Linked DNA regions of Homo sapiens: all the other regions are linked to region 2. Evidence: promoter capture Hi-C in 16 types of primary human blood cells and fetal thymus (Javierre and others, 2016). All regions are on one chromosome and are shown on one strand. The core of a region is centred on a gene start or on the middle of the fragment in contact, and the rest is flanking DNA. Distances in the headings are between cores, read along the strand shown. Region 1 holds the start of SAP25 (Sin3A associated protein 25). Region 2 holds the start of ORAI2 (ORAI calcium release-activated calcium modulator 2). Region 3 holds the start of COL26A1 (collagen type XXVI alpha 1 chain).

Region 1 (4,339 bases), core at 1,816-4,315, 1.9 Mb after region 2:
CGGGGCAGGGAGCCCCCGCCCCTGCCCCTGCCTCCCAAGAGCCCCTTCCCATAGCTGGACCAGGTGGGACAGGGATTTTGGGAGGAGGATGGGGCCTGTGTTGGTGAGGGCTGGTTGGGAGAGAGGGACACAGAGGGGATGCCTGTCTCACCTGCCCCTGTCGCTGTGTCCCTGGTTCCGGCCCCAGCGACAGCACCTGCTCCACGGCCACTTGGCTCCATTCAGAGACCAAACAGCTTCCTCTTCCGTTCCTCCTCTCAGAGTGGCTCAGGTGGGTGTCCTGCCCTCCCCAGTGCTGACCCAGTGCTTGCCAGCACCAACGGCTACATCACCCTTCTGCCCTGGGAGCCCTCTGGGTCTGTTGTACCTTTTGTACCTTTGCGTTGAAAATCCCACAAGCAAGCCGGGTGTGGTGGCTCACACCTGTAATCGCAGCACTTTAGGAGGCCCAGGTGGGAGGATCGCTTGAGCCCAGGAATTCAAGACCAGCCTGGGCAACATAGCGAGACCCCATCTCCATGAAATAAAAAAAAATCCCACAAGCAGAGAGGCAGGAGGTGTAGGTGCCAGGCCACTGGGACCCAGCTACAGAGTCAGTGGTGAGCAGTGGAGGCAGCCCCATGCCCCCCTTTTTCTCCTAGGCCCTTCCTCACCAGACTCTGTCCTGAGACCTCGGCGGTACCCCCAGGTTCCAGATGAGAAGGACTTAATGACTCAGCTGCGCCAGGTGAGCAGAGGCGGGAGCTGCGTGGGCAGGGGCCTGGGCCGGGCACCTCCTTGTGTTGCTGTCCTTGGGACCAGCCTCCCTCCACATCCTCTGTGCCCACTCTGGCACCTCCCCTGAGGACAGGAAGGGACAGGCACAAGTTCCCTGCTAGCCCTGAGCCCCCCACTCTCCCTGCCTCCCAGACGCCTCTCCTTCCCTGACCCCTGCTCTATGTGGTCTACACTGCCAGGTCCTTGAGTCCCGGCTGCAGCGGCCCCTGCCTGAGGACCTGGCCGAGGCTCTGGCCAGTGGGGTCATCCTGTGCCAGCTGGCCAACCAGCTACGGCCGCGCTCCGTGCCCTTCATCCATGTGCCCTCCCCTGCTGTGGTCAGTTGGGGCTGGGGAAGAGGTGGGGGATGGGCCGGGGCGCCTGTGGCCTCTCCCTTACCACATTTTCTTCTTTCACCCACCCCAGCCAAAACTCAGTGCCCTCAAGGCTCGGAAGAATGTGGAGAGTTTTCTAGAAGCCTGTCGAAAAATGGGGGTGCCTGAGGTATGGGGGCTGCTTTCTAAAGAGTGGTGGCATGCCGGACTCAGCCGAGCATGTGGCATGGATGGTGGGCTTCCATTTGCAGCGGATGTCTGCTCTCAGATGAAGGCACAGGCTGCCCCTGCCCTGCCCAGCATGCCCCCTGCCCTGCATGCCCCCTGCCCTGCATGTCACCTGTCCTACACATCCCCTGCCCTGCAGGCCCCATCTTGTCCTGCATGTCACCTGTCCTGCACATGCCCTGCCCTGCACTCCTCCTGCACTGCACTCCCCCTGCCCAGCACGTCAGCATGTGGGCGTGGTTCTGGCCCCAGCACGTGAGGGCAGGGGTGGGAGGGACTGTCCTGCTGCTGCTGCTGACGTCTGTCCCTTGTCCTTGTCCACCTGCTCTCCTCTCCCCCAGGCTGACCTGTGCTCGCCCTCGGATCTCCTCCAGGGCACTGCCCGGGGGCTGCGGACCGCGCTGGAGGCCGTGAAGCGGGTGGGGGGCAAGGCCCTACCGCCCCTCTGGCCCCCCTCTGGTCTGGGCGGCTTCGTCGTCTTCTACGTGGTCCTCATGCTGCTGCTCTATGTCACCTACACTCGGCTCCTGGGTTCCTAGGCCCCAAAATCGGCCCTCCCTCACCCCTTTCCCTTCCTCTCTATTTATAAGGTCCCTGCTCCACCCGACCCCACCTGCGGTGCCTTCAGCCCCAACCAAAGACACTAGTGCACCCCCTTCACAGACACTGACCTCAGAGGCCCCACTCTGGTGCCCCCAGACCCTGGGCCCCCAGCCTCTGGCCTCCCTCCAGTAGCCCCACGAGTCCCCACCTCTCAGTGCTGACGGTGCCTTCATGTCCCCGCCGGCCCTGCCCCTGCCCTCTGTACCCCGTGAGGGGTGGCAGGAGCTGGAGTCTCCCCCTTCCTCCTGTGCCCTCCCCTTCCCCCCCCAACAGCTGCTATGGGGGGGCTAAATTATCTCTATTTTGTAGAGAGGATCTATATTTGTAGGGGTTCGGGGCCCAGGCCGGGTCCCTATCTCTGTGTATAAACTGTACAGACCGTGGCCGCCCTGCCTGTGTGTGTGTGTGTGCGCGCGCGCGCGCGTCTGCTCCGCGTGTTGGTGGCTGTGGCCATGGCTCTGTGCCCACCAGCATCTCCCTCCTGAGATGCCGGCCTCTCATGCTCCCGGAGCGTCCGCCAACCCCCCGTGTCACCTCCCTTCTGTTATCGCTGACAGCTTTCTTGCGTCTCATTTGTCGCCGAGCCCCGAGCGCACGGTGATGCTCGGGTCTGCCCCCGACCCCCTGCCACAGGCCGGAAGCCGCAGGGGGCACCGTGGGGAAGCTAACCCGGCCCCTTCCCCCAGGAGTCACTGTGCCAGCCCCACCACATCCTGGAAGAGGAGGGGGCCCCGGGAAGGGGCCTCCCCTACATCGCTGCTGTCGTCCACGCCCTGCTGGACCGGCCTTAGGGGTGAAGGTGGGGGCACAGGGCCCACCCCGCCCGGGACCCCGGGAGCAGAAGACGCGCCTGGGCTCCGCGCTCTCAGAGAAGCACGTGGTGAGGGTGGCCTGGGCCTGGGCACCCTTGGCCTGCCGGCCTGGCTGCCTCTGGGGTCGAGGGTCTGGGTGGAAGGACCGCGGGTGTCGCAGGTGTCGTGTCAGCCGCAATAAACAGAAGCCAGAAGCCCTCTGGGTGGCCCTCAGGTGTAACTGTGTCTGAGAGCACGTGCGTCGCGGGGTTGTTGGGGGGGCCTCTGTTTCCGGAATTCACCGCCCAGTCGCCAGGGGGCGCCCGCGGGAGCCCGGCGGGGGCACGCGCCACGTGGCCGGGAGACGCACAGGGCGCCAGCGTCGCCGCGAGGCCTCTGGGGTGGGTTCGCCAGGAGGGCACGTTCGCGCCGCGCCGCGGAGGGAGGCTGAGAGGGCCGGGCCGGGCGGCGGGGACACGGCGGTACCGTCCTGCGCTCGGGAACGCGGAATGTTGCCCTGGTCGCCGCCGCGGTGGGGCGCGGGCCCGGAGGAGGCGCCCGAGGGACCAGGCCTTCCGGCGGGCAAGGACCAGGGCGAGCCCTGGAGCGCCGGAGCGGACGCCCCCAGGGAGCTGGGGACACCCCCATGGGACAGGTGAGGGGCTCGGACGGAGCCGTGGGGGGACAGCGACTGGGGGCCTCCATGCCTTCACCACGCGCTCTACGGAGGCTTCTCCATTGTCCCTGCTGGAGATTGGGTCCCTCGGTCTCCCTTGCACCAGGCACCCTTGGGCTCCAGGGGAGGGTGCGTGGGGGCGGTGTGGCTGCAGCCTCAGTCCCTGCCCCTCCAGCCCACAGCCCCCATCCCGTAGCCCTTCCTGGATCTGGAGAGAGCAGCTGCTGCTGCCCCACCACCTGCCAGGCCCGGCCACTGAGCAGCCCCCCGGAGCCCCAGGTAGGACAGGCCCTGCTGCCTCTACTACCCCTAAGAGCCTCTCACTGACTGTGAGCCTGTTATAATCCCCAAGCGTCCCCCCAGATCCCCGTTCCCCCCAGGTGGCCTGGGAGGTGGCCCCCTCGAGGATGACTCCACTAGCGCCCTGGGACCCCAAGTATGAAGCCAAAGCAGGACCTCGGCCGGTGTGGGTGAGTTGGGGGCAAACCTGTGGGACTGGCTGGGGTGCTCAGGGAGCTGTGCGGTGGCCTGAGGCTCCAGTGCTCTGTCCTCCTCACCCTAGGGGGCCAACTGTAGCTCAGGAGCCTCGTTCTCAGGCCGGACGCTGTGTCACCCCTCATTCTGGCCGCTGTATGAAGCAGCCTCGGGCAGGGGTCTCAGGCCCGTGGCCCCTGCCACAGGGCACTGGAATGGACAGCAGGCGCCCCCAGATGCAGGTACCTCCCTTGGTCCCCCGGGGGCGCAAGGCTGCCCCAACTCCTCTGGGAACCAGTGCCCAGGGGTGGGAGCCCGCAGCCCGCCACCCTAGTGGTGTTTCCTCCTAGGGTTCCCGGTGGTGTGCTGTGAAGATGTCTTCCTCTCGGACCCTCTGCTGCCCCGGGGGCAGCGTGTTCCCCTGTACCTGTCCAAGGCCCCCCAGCAGGTGAGAGCTCTTTCCCCTCCCTGTCCTT
Region 2 (4,216 bases), core at 1,108-3,607:
TGTGGGTCAGGAGCAGTAGCTCACACCTGTCATCTTTGGGAGGCTGAGGTGGGCGGATCACTAGAGGTCAGGAGTTCGAGACTAGCCTGGACAACATGGTGGAAACCTGTCTCTTCTAAAAATACAAAAAGTAACTGGGCATGGTGGTGGGCGCCTGTAATCCCAGCTACTCAGGAGGCTGAGGCAGGAGAATTGCCTGATCCCAGGAGGCGGAGGTTGCAGTGAGCTGAGATCCTACCGCGGCACTCCAGCCTGGGTGACACAGTGAGACTCTGTCTTAAAAAAAAAAAAATAGCTGGGTGTGGTGGCAGAGGTTGCAGTGAGCCAAGAGCACACCACTGCACTCCAGCCTGGGCAACAGAGCGAGACTCCATCTCAAAAAAAAAAAAAAAAAAGAGGGGGGGGCAATCCTCATCCACTGAGCTAAAGGCTTCAATGGAGGGCAGGGAGCAGAGGACTGGCTGCCTCACACCAAGGCCAGGAAAAGGTGCTTGCAGGTAACACCGGGGAGGGGACAGAGCGGCCCTTTGCATGCCAAAGTGCCTCATGCCTGTAATCCCAGTGTTTTGTGAGGCCAAGGTGGGAGGATCACCTGCGGCCAGGAGCTGGAGACCAGCCTAGGCAACAGAGTAAGACGCTGTCTCTAAAAATAATTTTTTTTGACATGGGGTCCTGCTGTGTTACCAAGGCTGGAGTGCAGTGGCACAATCTCAGCTCCCTGCAAATTCTACCTCCCAGGCTCAAGCGATCCTCCCGCCTCAACCACCCGAGTAGCTGGGACTACATGTGTGTGCCACCATACCTGGCTAATTTTTGGTATTTTTGGTAGAGACAGGGTTTTGCTATGTTGGCCAGGCTGGTCTAGAACTCCTGAGCTCAAGTGATCCGCCCACCTTGGCCTCCCAAAGTGCTGAGATTATAGGCATGAACCACTGCGCCTGGCCTCTAAAAAGAATTTTAAAAAAGAGGGACCTTTCCTCAAAGACAAGATGCTGCCTGCATGGAAGGATTCCGAGAGACGGGAAGGCCACTCCAGGTGTACATGTGGGGTGGCTCTCCTTGTCCAGGAGATATGGAGGGAAGACTGGCTGCCACCTGGGGGGTGGAGGGGGCAGGGAGATGTGGGTGGAAGACACTTGGAGCCTGGGGCTGTGGAATGAGCCAGAGGGTCTGGGCAGCATGACTGGGCGTCCAGCCACAGGAGAATGGAAGAAATTGGTGAGTGGAACGGTCTGGGCACTGCTAGATCATTCTGGTTTGGGACCACAGTTCAACCCAGGGAAATGGCTGGCCGACTGGCAGGAGTGGGACGCAAGGGAGAGCCTGGTGGCCTCCAAAGGAAGGAAGGGTGAACAAGAGGGATGCCCCATCAGTAAGGGTGGGCTGGGCTCAGGTCTGAGAGTGGAGGTGAAGAGCTCAGGGCAGTGAGGGCTGAGGGTGGCTTCCTGGGAGCCGCCAGGCCTCCCATGCCCCATCGGTGAGGCCCTGCAGATGTCCCCAGAGTGGGTGGGATTGTGGAGGAAACGATGTCTGTCTGCCTGGAGCTGGGTCTTGAGACAGGTCTCCAGGTCTCGAAGGAGCAGCCCAGGAGGGGGTTCAAATCCATCCTTTATGTTCCCAATGCCAACTGTGTGTGCCAGGCCCGGTGGCCCAGGGGGAGGGACAGAGTCTGGGCCTCACACTGGATCCCAGGCAGGGGGTGGGGTGGGGCAGGATGGAGCCCTGTACTTCTGTCAGGTGGCACAGACCCTAGAGGATGCTCCGGGACTGAACCTTGTGGGGTTGCTTTTTTTTTTTTTTTTTTTTTTTTGCTTTAATGAGCAGTCCGAGAAAACAGGTCTTGTAGAATAACGCGATCCCCTCTCTAGAGATGAGCTTTTCTTCCTGGCTGGCCTACTGGACACATTTCCAGAGGGCGGTCTTGGAGTTTGACTTCCTCTAAGCATCTGGGGCACCGGCAATGGCGAGTGTCTCTCTCCAGCAGGCGCACTGGGAGGGGGCCTCCCAGGGGCGCTAGGCTGCATCCCTGTCCCTCCCCCAGGGACGCCCCGGTGTCCGGAACCGGCTGCGCCGCCGACCCTGATCCTCTGGGCGCCGCACCCCGCCAGGGATCCCGCGGGGTGGAGGTCACCAACCCCGGATGGGTAGTGACCGCGCCCGGGCAGCCTACAGTCGTCCCCTTCCCCGCCGAGCGTCCCCGGTCCAATTCCGGCCCCCCCAGCCGCAGGGACCCCGCTCCCCGCGCCAGGCCCCCGCGCCGCCACACTCACCGGAGCTGCCCTCGCCCCGCCCGGCTCGGCTCCCGCTCGGACTGCGTGGCCGCGTGGCCTGTGGCCCAGTGGCCCGGCCGGGGCGCCGAGCGCGGCCCCCTCCCTCCTTCCGCCGGTCGCGCGGGGTCCCCCGGCCCCGCCTCCACCCCGCCCCCGCGGCCGCCGCAGCCGCTGCCAAGGCAACCAGGCGCCGCCAACACGTGACCCACCCGCGGGAGAGCCGCGGCCACGTCACCCGCCGGGCCGGGAGGGGCGGGGCTGGCGGCGCCTCCTCGGAGAGTGGGGGGGTGGGGGTCCCCGCCTCACCTGGAACCACCCCGGGATCGCGCGAGGGAGAGGAGCAGGGGAGGTGGGAAGACCCCGACCCGCGCGCATCCCTCCTGCCCCAGCTCCTGTCCCCGGCCCCAGCTCTGGGAGTCAAGGCGAGGCCCCCCACCGCCCCATCGGGGGTCCGGCTACCCACAGACCACGAGCTGGGCTTTCCCTGCCCCTGGGTCCGGGCGCAAAAGGGGAGCCCCAGGCTTGGCAGGGTGAGCCTCGGGGGGTGCCCAGCATTGGACGCTGGCTGCGTAGAGGGGCGGGGAGTGGGGACAGGGCGGGCGGGTGCAGGTGGGCAGTGGAGGGGAAAGGAAGGTGGGGAGGGGAGAATCCGTCTGGCCACGCCCGAGTTTTCACAGGATTTTTTTTTTTATTTTTTTGAGACAGGGTCTGGCTCTGTCGCCCAGGCTGGACTGCAGTGGTGCGATCACGGTTCAATGCAGCCTCGAATTCCTGAGCTCGAGTGATCCTCTGCCCTCAGTCACCCAAAGTGCTGAGGCTACATGTAGGCAGGAGCCACCACACCGTGGTAGTTTTTAAAAAATTTGTTTTTGTTTGTTTTTTGAGAGGGAGTTTTGCCCTGTCACCCAGGCTGGAGTGCAGTGGTGCCATCTTGGCTCACTGCAACCCCCGACCCCGGGGTTGAAACGATTCTCCTGTCTCAGCCTCCGAGCTACAGGTGCACGCCACTAGCCTGGCTACTTTTTTGTATGTTTAGTAGAGATGGGGTTTCACCATGTTGGCCGGACTGGTCTTGAACTCCTGACCTCAGGTGATCCTGCCTGCCTCGGCCTCCCAAAGTGCTGGGATGATACATGTGAGCCACTGTGCCCAGCCAAAAAAAAAAAAAAAAATTCTTTTTTTAGAGATAGAGTCTTCCTGTATTGCCCAGACTGGTCTTAAACTCCTGGCCTCAAGCAATCCTCTCTTAGCCTCTCAAAGCACTGGGATTACAGGCATGTGCCACAATGTCCAGCTAATTTTTAAATTTTTTAAAAAAATTGAGATGGGTCTTGCTATGTTGCCTCTGCTGGTCTCGAACTCCTGGGCTCAAGTGATCCTCCCACCTCAGCCTCCCAAAGTGCTGGGCATAGAGGCATGGGCCACCTTGCTTGGCCCCTGCCCAGGGTGTTGGATGGCACCATGAAGAGCTTGCACTGAGCTAATTGGGGGTTGCCACCCAGAGTGCACTGCCACTCACAGACCCAGCGAGACCCCTGGGGTCCCAACTTCAGTGCAGCGTGCTGTCCTTCTCATGCTGTTCGCAGACAGCAGCAAAGAGTTTCTGCTGTGCCCTGGCCCCTTCCACTCCCTACTGCAGGGAGCCTCTCACCTTTAACGGTGAATTCTCTGCGGTTTTACGAGCGAGGCAGTCAAACAGGAGCATTCTTTTCAGGAAGTGCAGCACATGAATAATTCACAGACAGACAAGATGGGTTCCTATCAGCCCGGCGGTGCCAGACGGTCCCTTGGAGTCCTTCCTCCATGCCGGGTAGGCTGCTGCGTGCCCTACATAGGATTTTTCCATCTGTCACAACAGCATTGGACCGTGACACATTTATCCAAACGAAGGAAAAATTCCACTCATGTCAGCCAGCCCACATTTTATGACAATTGGAAGAGTAGAT
Region 3 (3,912 bases), core at 1,223-3,722, 1.1 Mb after region 2:
CATTAACTGCTGAAATGGTTTCCTAGAAACTTTTTTCAGGCATTTATCTACCTAGATGTAGATCTGATTTTCCTTTTCATAAATGAAATCGTGCTGTATATATTATTCTGTAACTTGAAAAGCTTGTTTTTTAGACAATCCTCATATGGAACTGTGCAGAGGCCACACTAGCGTGGGTGTTTGGAGAATGCTCCTCATAGAAGCCCCGGGTAAGTATTTCCAAACAAAATGAGAGAAATAGGATTGCATACAAACTTTTCCAGAGGCACTTTTATGCTTTTCTGGGTCCCGCCCTATTCAGCCATGACTGTATATTTCTTCCCAGCATGAAACATCCCTGTCTCCTTGTTATTAAGGAATTAGCCAGAAATCATCTTGGAGTCCTCTGATTTGGTAAATATCAAGGAGAAAAAAAGAACTAGGAGCTGTCTTTTAGCTTTGATAGGCAGAGCAGTATGCTAGAAAACACCAGATCTGGGCCTGGCGTGGTGGCTCACGCCTGTAATCCCAGCATTTTGGGAGGCCGAGGCAGGAGGATCTCTTGAGGCCAGAAGTTTGAGACCAGCATGTGTAACACAGTGAGATCCCACCTCTACAAAAAATCAAAAAATTAGCCAGTCATGATGGTGTACACCTGTGATCTCAGCTACACAGGAGGCCAAGGTCGGGGGATCACTTGAGCCTGGGAGATCAGGTTTGCAGTGAGCTATGATCGCACCACTGCATTCCAGCCTGGGGAGCAAGCAAGACCCTATATTAAAAAAAAAAAAAAAAGAAAGAAAGCACAAGAGGTCAGTCCTGAGTGGCTCCTAGGCCTAGCAAATCCTGAGCCTCTGTTTCTTCAGCTAAAGGAAAGATACTACTCTAATGTTTTAACCCTAGGGTTGTTAAGGATCAAAAGAAATGGAGATTGGGAGGCCAAGGCGGGAGGATCGCTTGAGCCCAGGAGTTTGCGACAAGCCTGGGCAACAGAGTTGAGATTCTGCCTCTGCAAAAAAAAAAAATTAAAATATAAAAAAGAGACGGAGGGAACAGACACAGGTAGTGCATTCCAGAGCGCTGTCATAGCTGTGTAGGTTGTAGTTATCACTAAATGAGAAAAGCTAAATTCAAGCGAGTTATGCAAACGAGGCGTTTGGCAACTTTTACTTGCATGCTTATGGTTTTCTGGGGAAATTCAAATGCGGGCTCCGGAGCCGCAGCCCTGAGCGTCCCGGGGGTGGCCATGGCGCCACCTGCCGGCCGAGAGGAAGGAGACGCCTGGCGGGTCCCGGCGCCCGGGCCCGGTGACCCTGCGCCCTCTCCAACCCCGCCACGGAGCCACCCGATCCCAGCCGGTTCCACGTCCCGGGGTGGCTGGGGAGTCGCAGCCGAGGATCCTCCGCGGCCTCAGCCCCAAAGACTGGGCGGGAATGACCCCTCTGGTGTCCTGGGGCCGCTGATAGGAGAGGGGTGCCCGGGACGCGAGGCCTTGGCCACCCGAGAACCTGCTCCGCGACACAAAGCCGCAGCCGCGCAGGTGAGCGGCAGAGCCACGTGAGCGGCCGAACGCCCCGGGCAGAGCCCCAGCCCCAGCCACGGCGGTCGGAACCACCTCTACTCGGAGCCCGGAACGAGGGGGCGAAGGTTGGGGAAGCGAAGAAAGGAAGGGACAGGGTGGGCGCGGCCAGAGACCACCGCAGCCCCGGAGCCGGACCCGAACCTTCAGCCCCCGCAACCCCGCAGCCCCGCAGCCCCGCGGCCCCAACCCCCAGCCTCCTCCATCGCTCGTTCCAGCTGCCCCGTCTGCAGCCCCCAACCCCCGCCGCCCCGCGCCCCAGCCCCCAATCGCCCTGCACCCAAGGCCCTTCGGTCTTTCCCCCCGTGACCCCAACCCCCAGCCACCGCCATTTCGTCCCAGTTGCCCCGTGTCCCCTGCCCCTGGCATCCGCCACCCCGCGCCCCCAGGCCCGAATCGCCCCGCACCCCAACCCCCTCCAGCTCTCGTTCCAGCTGCCCGGTGTCTGCAGCCCCCAGTCCCCGCTGCCCTGCGCCCCCAAGTCCCGGATCGCCCCGCTCTCCAGCCCCCAAGCCTCGCTCCAGCCACCCAGTGGCCAGGGCCCCCGCTGTCCGCTCCCTCCCCCCACCCCCCGGCCCCTCGGCCCCGAGCTACTCACCGGCGGCTCGCGTAGCCGCTGCCAGGGGAGCCGGCGCCGGGCTCGGGGTAGCCGTGCTGCTGCAGAGCTGCGGCCGAGAAGGGATAGAGGAAGCCGGTGGCCAGCGCCGACCCGCAGAGGCAGCAACACGCCCAGGGCAGGAGCAGGGCCAGCTTCATCGTGCGCAGCAGCCCGCGGGGACCCGGAGTCCCGGGCACGAGGACCGGCAGGAGCGCACCGGCGCCCGGACCGAACCCGCGGCACCGGCCGGGAGCACAGCGAGAGGAGCGGGGCGAGCGGTCGGAGCCCGGGTGCGAGCTGGAAATGTGTGGGGGGCGCCCACGCCTCTCCGGGGCCGCCTTTTCAAATTCGGCGAGGTGGGCTCTAAGCCGTCAAAGGGGGCGTGGGGCTTTTTTGTTAACCCTCGGCGGTCCGGGGCCGAGGAGGCGGCAGTGGCGGCAGAGCTAGGGTGCGAGCTCCGCAGGAGGTCCCTGGAGCCTAACACCCCGAAAGCCAGACCTCGCGCCCAGGCCCCCGCTACACACCTTAGAACCTTTGAAACCAAACCTTCTTCGGGTCCGCGAATGCTTTCGGAGCGCCCATTCTGTGTCTGCCAATTTCACCTGGACGATGTTGGTGAATCCTCGCCACACTGCCCTCGATGGTCCCATTCAGAAGTGGAAACTGAGGCTGGAGAAAGTTAAGCCAGACAAATGCGAGTCTTCCGATCCTTGTGCAGGGCTCTTTGGATCAAAGCGCTGCGTTCCCGTGAGAAACTGACCAGAGCTTCCCAGGATTCTCCTCCTTCCCCTTTAACCTCCAGCCCCCACCTGCCCCGCTGTCTCTTCCAGGTAAGAAGCTTTGGGAGGGGCGGAAGGGTCAGTTGGGGTGAGAAGTTGTAGCTAGATTGGGAGGCCGAGGTGGGCGGATCACCTGAGGTCAGGAGTTCGAGACCAGCCTGGCCAACATGGTGAAACCTCGTCTCTACTAAAAATACAAAAATTAGCCTAGTGTGGTGGCAGGTGCCTGTAATCTCAACTACAGGCTGGGCTGAGGCAAGCCAATCACTTGAACTCAGGAGGCGGAGGGTGCAGTGAGCCAATATCAGGCCACTGGCCTCCAGCCTGGATGACAAGGTGAGGCTCCATCTCAAAAAAAGAAAAAAGTTGTAGCTAGAATCACAGATTCATGAGACATCCTATCCAGAAAAGGGCTTCAGGAAGATGTAGGACAATCCCACCTTTTATAAACAGAAAAGCAGAGTCCTAGATCCCATGCTGGGCCCAAGGCCAGCCTGGACCCAAGTTTTGGTCTTTTCTATGTTGCAGGATTCCCATAGGGCTTGGACCCTGCTCCAGGCCCAGGTGGGACCAGAAATCCAGCCCGTACTCTACTCGCCCGGGTTAGGAGCATTTTGTTCCTTTTTTTTTTTTTCTTTTTCTTTTTTTTTTTTTTTTGAGTTGGAGTCTCGCTCTGTCACCCAGGCTGGAGTGCAGTGGTGCGATCTCGGCTCACTGCAACCTCTGCCTCCCGGGTTCAAGTGATTCTTCTGCCTCAGCCTCCCGAGTAGCTGGGATTACAGGCAAGCAATACCATTTCGGGTTAATTTTTGTATTTTTAGTAGAGACGGGGTTTCGCCATGTTGGCCAGGCTGGTTTCGAACTCCTGACCTCAGGTGATTCACCCACCTCCGCCTCCCAAAGTGCTGGGATTACAGGTGTGAGCCACCTAGCCCGGCCTGGGAGCTTTTTTCCTAATTCTTCCAAAAGCAACCTAA

Evidence for each region. The method cuts DNA at HindIII sites, captures the fragments that hold promoters and counts their contacts. A CHiCAGO score of 5 or more calls a contact.
Region 1: a contact is called between the fragment with the promoter of SAP25 here and the fragment with the promoter of ORAI2 in region 2, in 1 of 17 cell types (M0 macrophages). The highest score is 5.1, in M0 macrophages.
Region 3: the fragment with the promoter of COL26A1 here is called in contact with the fragment with the promoter of ORAI2 in region 2 in 3 of 17 cell types (M0 macrophages, M2 macrophages and M1 macrophages); the score reaches 11.5 in M0 macrophages.

Annotation. Positions count from the first base shown.
Region 1 is chr7:100,572,626-100,576,964 of GRCh38, reverse strand. SAP25 (Sin3A associated protein 25) reads left to right here and starts at 3,065. Exons shown (of 6, transcript NM_001348680.2): 1 at 3,065-3,368; 2 at 3,565-3,668; 3 at 3,753-3,859; 4 at 3,952-4,105; 5 at 4,214-4,311. The coding sequence starts at 3,223. It overlaps LRCH4 (leucine rich repeats and calponin homology domain containing 4), which reads left to right. Exons shown (of 18, transcript NM_002319.5): 13 at 1-63; 14 at 188-271; 15 at 642-727; 16 at 957-1,094; 17 at 1,183-1,260; 18 at 1,661-2,954. The coding sequence ends at 1,858. RefSeq lists enhancers at 1,093-1,646, 1,647-2,201. The HindIII fragment of the contact is 23,848 bases long and covers 1-4,339 here.
Region 2 is chr7:102,431,716-102,435,931 of GRCh38, reverse strand. It overlaps ORAI2 (ORAI calcium release-activated calcium modulator 2), which reads right to left and starts at 2,357. Exons shown (of 4, transcript NM_001126340.3): 1 at 2,271-2,357. RefSeq lists silencers at 1,948-2,727, 2,758-2,897. The HindIII fragment of the contact is 6,966 bases long and covers 1-4,216 here.
Region 3 is chr7:101,361,435-101,365,346 of GRCh38, reverse strand. It overlaps COL26A1 (collagen type XXVI alpha 1 chain), which reads right to left and starts at 2,472. Exons shown (of 13, transcript NM_001278563.3): 1 at 2,157-2,472. The coding sequence starts at 2,314. RefSeq lists a silencer at 1,099-1,338. The HindIII fragment of the contact is 2,872 bases long and covers 125-2,996 here.